Linked DNA regions of Homo sapiens: regions 2 and 3 are each linked to region 1. Evidence: promoter capture Hi-C in human tissues and cell types (Jung and others, 2019). All regions are on one chromosome and are shown on one strand. The core of a region is centred on a gene start or on the middle of the fragment in contact, and the rest is flanking DNA. Distances in the headings are between cores, read along the strand shown.

Region 1 (2,692 bases), core at 82-2,581:
AGCCTGGGCAACAGAAAGGGAGACTCCAGTCTCAAAAAAACAAAACAAAACAAAAACAAAAATTAGCCGGGCATGGTGGTGCACGCCTGTAATTTCAGCTTGTTGGGAGGCTGAGGCAGGAGAATCGCTTGCACCCAGCAGGTGGAGGTTGCAGTGAGCCGAGATCGAGCCACTGCTCTCCAGCCTGGGCAACAGAGACTCCATCCCCTCAAAAAACAAAATAATAAAATAAATACACCCTCCTGCCTGAGGGACCTTGCACTAACTATTCCCTCTGCCTGAAATGCCCCCTTTCTCCAGAAATCTGCACCACTGACTCACTCATTTCCTTCATGTGTTTACTCAAGTCAACTCTGAAGCCTGCTCTGCCTGCCCTATTTAAAACTGCAACCCCATCCCCCTTTCCTGTTTTTCCTTCACACCATTCCCATCTAACATACTACAGAATTTACCAATTTTGTTCATGTCTATCTCCTCCCACTTGACTGTAAGCTCTATGACTATTAATGAAATATCTACTAATTCATTCAATTAATTGAATACTGCTATTAAGTGCCAAGCACTGTGCTAAGCAATGGAGCTACAAGATGACTAAAACTGCTTGTAGGTCTTGTGAGGGAAGAATCCTAATGACAATAAATGTAGCTCATTTAGTCAATGCTTCTCCAAACATCGTGATGGCTAATACTAAAACAGACTCAGTTCTGCATGCTCTATTTCATTTAACCCTCACCGAAACCTACACGGTGACCATCAGCAGCCTCATCGTAAAGCATAAAAAAACAAGATTGCAAGGCTGGGAAATGGCAGTCAGGATCTGAACCACGGTGTTGACAATGAGAACGGTGAGTAACGTCAAATGTGAGAAATATTTAGGACTTAGGCTCACAAAGACTAAGGCAAAGATCGGATGTGGGGGCCGAGGGAGGGAGGAAATGACTCCTGGATTTTGACTGGGGTGGACTAAAGCGCAGTGAGGCCTAAGAGAAGGATGAAGCGCAACGTGGGGCTGGGCTGGAGGTGCCTGCGGACCGGTCAGGGATATGGTCCACCCCTAGGGGAGCGGAGAGGCGGCTCCGCACCCTCCTCCGGTCGCCGCCGCCCCGGTCCAGGAGATGCTGAGAGAAGACACGCACGGGAAGAGCAGGAGGTGGGTTCCGTTCCCCTCCCTCTTGAGTCTCTTCACCAGCAGCTGCAGGAAGGGCGTGGGGGACCGAGAGACAAAGAGCGCGCAGGCACCGCCTCCGTCCGGGCGGCCCCTTTAAGAAGCGCGCGCCAGCTTCCAGCCCGCCTTGTATGCAAATGTAGCGGCGCGGCGGGAGCGCGCGGCTGATACCCGGGACTGGGCTGCGGCGGTTAGTCCTCTCCCGGCCGCCGTCGCCTCCGACATATTGCCCGCAGGAGCTGCGGCGGCGAAGCGGAGAGCACCGGGGGGAGGAGATGGGTGAGCAGAGCGGCTCAGGCTCGGCCTGGCAACGAGCGGGCGCACGGGTTAGGATGGCCAGGCTGCTAATTGCTGCTCCACGCGGACAGGAGCCCGGTGACGGGAGGGGGAGGGGATGCGAGCGCAGACGGGATCCCGCCCCCTCCTGTCGTTTTGCGGGGTGGGGCCTCTGTTGTGGGGGCGGGACATTGGACGGTGGGCGGGGCTTCTAAGACGAAGCCCTGTGGGGGCTTGGGCTTTCGTGAGGACCAGCTCGTCGGGGCTAGAAAGGGGGGCGGGACTTACCAGTGGGCGTGGCTTCAGCGCTAAGGGTGGAGATTCTGGGCAGGGGGCGCTAGTGCAGTCGGCGTTTCTGGGTTGGAGGGGTTACACTGGGGGCGGTGGAGCGGGGAGACTTCCGACTGAGGGAGCCCATTCTGGAGTGGGGCTTCTGGGCTGAGAGGGCTTTTATTGGCTTGTGGGCGGGGTTTCTGGGCTGACAGTTGTGTGTAGGCGGAGCTTCTGGGCTGAGGGGCTTTATGTGGGTGCAGAGCTTCTAAAGAGAGGAGAGTGGGTGTGGGCAGAGCTTCTGGACTGGACTAAGGGTGTTTGTGTGGGATTTTCTAAGCCAAGTATAACAGCGTATGAACAGAGCTTCTGGTCTGGGGGTTTATGGAGGGCAGAGCTCTTCGCCAGGTACTTTTTAGAGACTTGTGGAGGTTTATAATTTTGGGCATACATCCAAGCCCAAAATTGGCTCCGAAGTGTGGGAAACGCTTCCGAGCTGAGATGCTACGGCGTGGGGTGTATGTGAATGGAGGCTGCTGTGTTACTGTGAAGAGGTATGAACAGGTTATAACTTTTTAAAAATATGTATATGTATGTATATATATTTTTTAATAGAGACCGGGTTTCGCCATGTTGCCCAGGCTGGTCTCCAACTCCTGGTCTCAAGCGATCCTCCCGCCTCGGCCTCACAAATTGCTGAGATTACAGTCGTGAGCCACCACACCCAGTCAGGTTGTGACTTTTTTAGGTGCTTAGGAGCTTTGTGCAGAACTTTTGTGCGAAGTGGTGCGTGGGAGCTTGGGCTAGACTGCTCAGCCTAGTAGGTCCAATTTTTCAGTCCACAGCCACAGGATTCTCCCAGCCATATCCTTGACCCTTTATTTAGGCCCTGGGTCCTGCCCATGAGATCCCAGAATGCCCTTTGAGCTGAATCATGGGGCCCTGGATGAAAAAGCTGTCCCAAAGTTACCCAGAGTTATA
Region 2 (2,692 bases), core at 86-2,585, 500 kb before region 1:
GACTAGGGGTAAAGGAGTGGGCTGGTGGCAGGCAGGGAGCCTGTGTTCTGGCTGCACGACCTCAGGCAAGTGCATTCTTCTGAGCCTCAGTTTCCCACCTAGGCTTTGTCCTCCCAGGTCCCTGCAGGGAGCAGATGGGCAGCTCCTGGGTGTGTTAGTGCCAGTGCTGGGGCCCCCGGATATTATCCCTCCACCCCCACCACCAGGGCAGGACCCCCTTGGTGACTCACCACCCAGTGGTCCATGGCAGGGGTAACCCAGCCACAGGTGCCGGTGATCCTCGGCTCTCTCCCTTCCCCCAGGGTCTGGCCAGCTGAGGATGCCCCTTGGTTTGGGGGAGGTTTGCAGGGAGGTCAGTGGGAGGGCAAAGGGAGTCCCTGATGCCTTCCCCGGGGCCACATGTGAGGCTCAGGCCTGGGCCTGGGAGGGTTTGTCCAGGTGTAGTCTCTTTTATCCTCTTTGCTGGTAGAGACCTCTGGCCTGGGCCCAACCTGTTGAAGAGAGGGCGTTGCACAATAGGGAGGTAAAAGGTGACGGCAGACCTGGCGGGACAGAAGCCCCATTGTTTGGGTCCCAGGCCAGCCTGGGCAAAGAAAGGTTTATGCCTGCGGCAGGAAGGAGGGCCTCTGCAGGGGGTGCCAGCTGGTAGGGCCCTTGCCTTTGGACCCTTGGAGGGGGACAGGTGCCAAGCAGGATGCCCTTGGGTTTGCTAGAGAGGGCAGTGCTCGTCTAGGGGCCCAAGCAGGCAAGGGAAGGCAGACTCAACAAGGGATCAAAGGGTGCAGAGGCCACCCCCACACCCTGCCCACCTCCCAGGGATGAGCCGCCCAGGGCACCTAAGGATCATACTCCTGGAATTCCAATCATTCCTAGGAGCTGGGGTGGCTAGGGGGGCGGCACCCAAGCCTAGGGGGCACAGTGGAGAGGGGTGTGCATGGCTATTTTTATTACCGAGGGGTCAGGAGAGGCTTACAGAATTTTGCCTCACATGCCCTCCCCATCATTTCCCAAACTTGTGTCCATAACCCAGAGCTCGGCTGCCCATATCCCCCCTTCTCCACCAGAGCCCCTCAGCTCCACAGGGATGCCCACTGTGAAGTCCTTCCCAGTGTGAAACCGCAATCCTTCCTGCTTGGGGTTCCCCTAAGGGAACGGCTTCCGCCACAGGAGACCCAGCCAGGACAATCGTGTGCTTGTCGTTTCTCCACCCTGCAAGCCCATGAGTTGTGGGGTAGTTACTCCAGGTACAAGCCAGGCGCCCCTCCCTTCCGCCACTGCTGGGGCGGTGCAGAGGGCGGGCGGTACAAAAAGCGCCCCGCCCCGCGCTCCTCTCTTGACTTTGAGCGTCCGGCGGTCGCAGAGCCAGGAGGCGGAGGCGCGCGGGCCAGCCTGGGCCCCAGCCCACACCTTCACCAGGTAGGGACGCTCCCCTGCTCAGAGGGCGGAAGGTGTAGACAGAGAAGAAACAGGGGGAGGGGGCAGGTAGAGGAACCAAGACAGATGGCAGAGAGAGGGACAGTGGAGGGGGACAGAGGGACACAGGAACAGAAGAGAGGTGTACCCAAAAGACCGGGGGAGACAGGAAAGCACAAAGTCAAGGACCCAGGTCAGGGATGGAGGCTGCTGGAGGGCAGAGAGACCTAGGACAGGAGAGAAGACCTTGGGTCCACAGGATGAGTGTTGGGTGGGAGCACCAAGAATGCCACCACCCTCATTTCCTTGTCCTTGAAGGTCCCTGCCTAGGTCAGGGAGGGGCTCCGTTTCTGCCCAGTCCCCATCCCCCTATAGCCAGGGCCCACACACTGGGGCTCCTCTGCCCGTGTCCTGCCTGGGGACTCAGGAATCGGGATCTCCCTCCCTGCTGGGCCCTCTTGAACTCACAGCTCCAGGAAACTGGGAGACTCATCCCTGGTGTTCCAGGGAGTCTCTGCTGCCCACCATCTCTGCCCCCCAGGGCCCAGGAGCCACCATGTGGCGATGTCCACTGGGGCTACTGCTGTTGCTGCCGCTGGCTGGCCACTTGGCTCTGGGTGCCCAGCAGGGTCGTGGGCGCCGGGAGCTAGCACCGGGTCTGCACCTGCGGGGCATCCGGGACGCGGGAGGCCGGTACTGCCAGGAGCAGGACCTGTGCTGCCGCGGCCGTGCCGACGACTGTGCCCTGCCCTACCTGGGCGCCATCTGTTACTGTGACCTCTTCTGCAACCGCACGGTCTCCGACTGCTGCCCTGACTTCTGGGACTTCTGCCTCGGCGTGCCACCCCCTTTTCCCCCGATCCAAGGTGGGCACTAAGATGGCCAGGAGGGTGGGTCACTTTGTCCACCTCAGACTCAGCAAGGCTCAAGAGCAAAGCTGATGGATGCACTGACATTTCCAGGGGAAGCTCTGTAGAATCTGGGACTCTTCCCTGCCCCTCTGGGAACTTTACTCTCCAGCAAGACTGAAGAAGCTCCTTGGTTAGAATTCTAATTTGGCCCAGGGAAAGGGCAACCTCCCACATTTTCTCCCAATCCTGTCTCTTTTCCAGACACGGAAGGTGCTGGCCGCACCTGCTGACTCACTCTTGGGCTGATAAGGCACATATGGGTTGGTGAGGGTCATCTTAGCCATTTTTCTGCCTTTGCTGAGGATTCTAGGATCCTGTGCCCCGAGATGGCTGCTCATACCTGGGAGATGGGTCAAATCTTTTCCTGC
Region 3 (2,692 bases), core at 130-2,629, 280 kb before region 1:
CAAATATGGGCAGGCAGTGTTCCAGGACCCTCAGTGGCTGCCCAGAAAGCTCTAATTGCCCCATGGAGGTCTGCAGCCTGTACTGGCTAATCTACAACTTCTCCAAAGCCCCTCCCTCCCTCCTCTATCCTCTGCTCTCATCCGACACTTTAGCTGATCATTAAGTCACTCAACGATCACTCCTAAAACCCTCCTTTGGGCCCTTCTTGCTATGGGTGACAGGGAGTCCTTCACCCTGTTTGTCTCTGTAGGAATGGGACCAACATCTCATTTGCCCCCATGCCCTGCACAGGGCCAGGCACAGAAAGGGGTGCCCATGAATTGTTTTAGAATGCATGAGTGAAAGAGAGAGAGAGAGAGAGGCTGCCTGGGCTGGTCAGTGTGTAAGGGAATCCCTGGCGAGGAGGGCAGGTGCACCTGGACAAGCCGACAGCTGTGTCCCGAGACCAGCTGGGCCCTGGCCCGGAACCGCTTGATGGAGAACATGTCCAGAACACCTTCCCAGGGTGGCAGGCAGGGCAGGGCCTTTGTGGGTGCAGCAGGCACATGGAGCCCAGATGGAGGGACCCTAGAGGGAGGGACAGAAGACAGGGCCAGACAGAGCAGGCCATGAGGACTTCCCCGGCACCTCCTTTCTTTTCAGAGCAGATCCTGTGTCCCTACTGTGGGGACTGGAACACTGGCCCAAGCTTGGCCTTGTGCAGGGGGCTGCCAGGAGGCTGGGATGATTAGTTCCATTGCACAGATGGGGAAAGTGAGGTTCCCAAGGGAGGGAAGACTTGCCCAAGGCCACACAGGAAAAGCCAGTGCTATGTCTGTTGCACCAGGTGGTGGCCTCCCCCTCAACCCTGCTGGGTTATCCACCTCCCTGCTCCCAACCCCACACCTGTCCTGTGGTTCCGTGGGAGACAACTCCCTGGTTTTGGGCATCTCTGGAGCAGGCATAGGAGTTTGGCTTAGGGCTTTCTGGAAGATATTGTCCCCGCAGCTCTTGGCGGCTTCGAAGGAGCCTAGCAGCTCATTCGAGGGCTCCCAGTCTGCAAATAGCAGAGGCAGGAGCTGAAACAGGGGCAGCAGCAGCGCTGAAGCCAGCCCAGGGCTTTAGAGCCAGGGTTGAACCAGGTTCTTTTCTAGGTGACCTGGGGCACGGGCACCCCTGCTCTGCCACCCTCTCCCCAGGCCACAAATCCCTGTTGCTGCTGAACTGCACGCTCAGCCCCAGCCTGGCTGCCACCCCTGCACCCCTCCCGTGTCCCCTCCCACCCTTGCAGATGTGGCAGTTGGGGTCTAAGAAGTGGTGGTCATGCTGCCCCGTGGTGTCCTCTGATGCGATGGGCAGGGCCTGTGGGCTGCAGTCCATGAACATCTGCGGTCCCTGGGAGGCAGAAGACAGAGGGGCAGGCTGAAAACGTGGCTGGGGGTGCCCGGAGGCCTCCATGGGTAGGGGGCCCCAGGATGTGGTTTATTTTTCTCAATAATAAATGTTGTTTTATTACCAAAATACTGTGAACTCATAAAGAAAATTTGGAAAACACCAAAACTTGAAAATTAAAAAGAAAATCACTTCTTGTCACACCACTCAGAGACCACTGTTGATATCCTGGGTATTCCTTTACAATCTTTTTCTTTTTTTTTCTTTTCTTTTTTTTTTTTTTGTTTGTTTGTTTGTTTTTTGAGACAGAGTCTTGCTCTGTTGCCTGGGCTGGAGTGCAGTGGCTCGATCTCGGCTCACTGCAACCTCCACCTCCCCGGTTCAAGCGATTCTTCTGCCTCAGCCTCCTGAGTAGCTATAGGCGTGTGCCACTATGCCCAGCTAATTTTTGTATTTTTAGTAGAGACGGGGTTTTACTATGTTGGTTGGCCAGGATGGTCTCCATCTCTTGACCTCATGATCCACACGCCTCGGCCTCCCAAAGTGCTGGGATTAAAGGTGTGGGCCACCGTGCCCAGCCCTTTATAATCTTTTTCTATACACAGGGTTTGGGGGTCCTTTTCCTGAAACAGCTGGGATCATATATTCAACTTGGTGTTCTCTTTTTGTTCACTAATAATAGCAGAGGCATTTGTCACATCATATAGTCCCCGTAGACACTGCTGTGATGGGGTGAGACTGGAGTGGACGTCTCACCTCTGTTGCTATACATTTGGGTCATTTCCAGGTTTTCACTATTACTAAATAGCACTGAGGACATTTTTTGTGCAGAAAGTAGTTTCCTAAACTTTAAATTATGTCCTTAGGACAAGATTTCAGAAGCAGATGACAGAATCAGGGAGAAGGAACATTTTAAAGACTCTTGACGTCTATTGCCAAATCACTTTTTTTCCTCATACTAGAAATAGCTTTAAACATAAAACAATCATTGCTTTAGGAAGGTTTAAAGAGATTTTGAAACTCTACTCTTATCAGCCACCTCCAGAACAGTCTCAAAGCACAGGCTTTGGAGTCAGCCAGCCTGGGTTCAAATCTCAGCTTCCCCACTGCACATATGTGACCTTGGTGCCAGGTTCCTCATCCCAGAAATGGGCAGGGAATAGCACCAACCTCCTAGGCCATTGTGAGATGTGAATGAGACACTGCTTGTAAAAGGTGCACACAGTAGGTGTTCAATAAACAGTAAAGATAGCTATCATGTGTTATTTTCCCCTCCCCTCCCCTCCCCTCCCACCTCCTCTCTCTCTTCCTCTCTGGGGC

Evidence for each region. Contacts are between HindIII fragments. The study calls those that stand out against the background at their distance.
Region 2: the fragment with the promoter of TINAGL1 here is called in contact with the fragment with the promoter of TMEM39B in region 1 in 1 of the 25 tissues and cell types used here (spleen).
Region 3: a fragment that was not itself captured here is called in contact with the fragment with the promoter of TMEM39B in region 1 in 1 of the 25 tissues and cell types used here (spleen).

The regions. Positions count from the first base shown.
Region 1 is chr1:32,071,608-32,074,299 of GRCh38, forward strand. TMEM39B (transmembrane protein 39B) reads left to right here and starts at 1,332. Exons shown (of 9, transcript NM_018056.4): 1 at 1,332-1,444. The coding sequence starts at 1,441. RefSeq lists an enhancer at 731-1,336. The HindIII fragment of the contact is 13,852 bases long and covers 1-2,692 here.
Region 2 is chr1:31,575,180-31,577,871 of GRCh38, forward strand. TINAGL1 (tubulointerstitial nephritis antigen like 1) reads left to right here and starts at 1,336. Exons shown (of 12, transcript NM_022164.3): 1 at 1,336-1,416; 2 at 1,955-2,279. The coding sequence starts at 1,970. LOC105378626 (a long non-coding RNA gene) reads right to left here. Exons shown (of 6, transcript NR_188671.1): 1 at 2,665-2,692; 2 at 231-491. RefSeq lists an enhancer at 1,147-1,867. The HindIII fragment of the contact is 21,101 bases long and covers 1-2,692 here.
Region 3 is chr1:31,792,861-31,795,552 of GRCh38, forward strand. It overlaps SPOCD1 (SPOC domain containing 1), which reads right to left. Exons shown (of 16, transcript NM_144569.7): 11 at 1,264-1,375; 12 at 887-1,037; 13 at 418-568. Among named protein-coding and RNA genes, the nearest start is that of SPOCD1, 22 kb to the right of the region's middle. The HindIII fragment of the contact is 6,745 bases long and covers 1-2,692 here.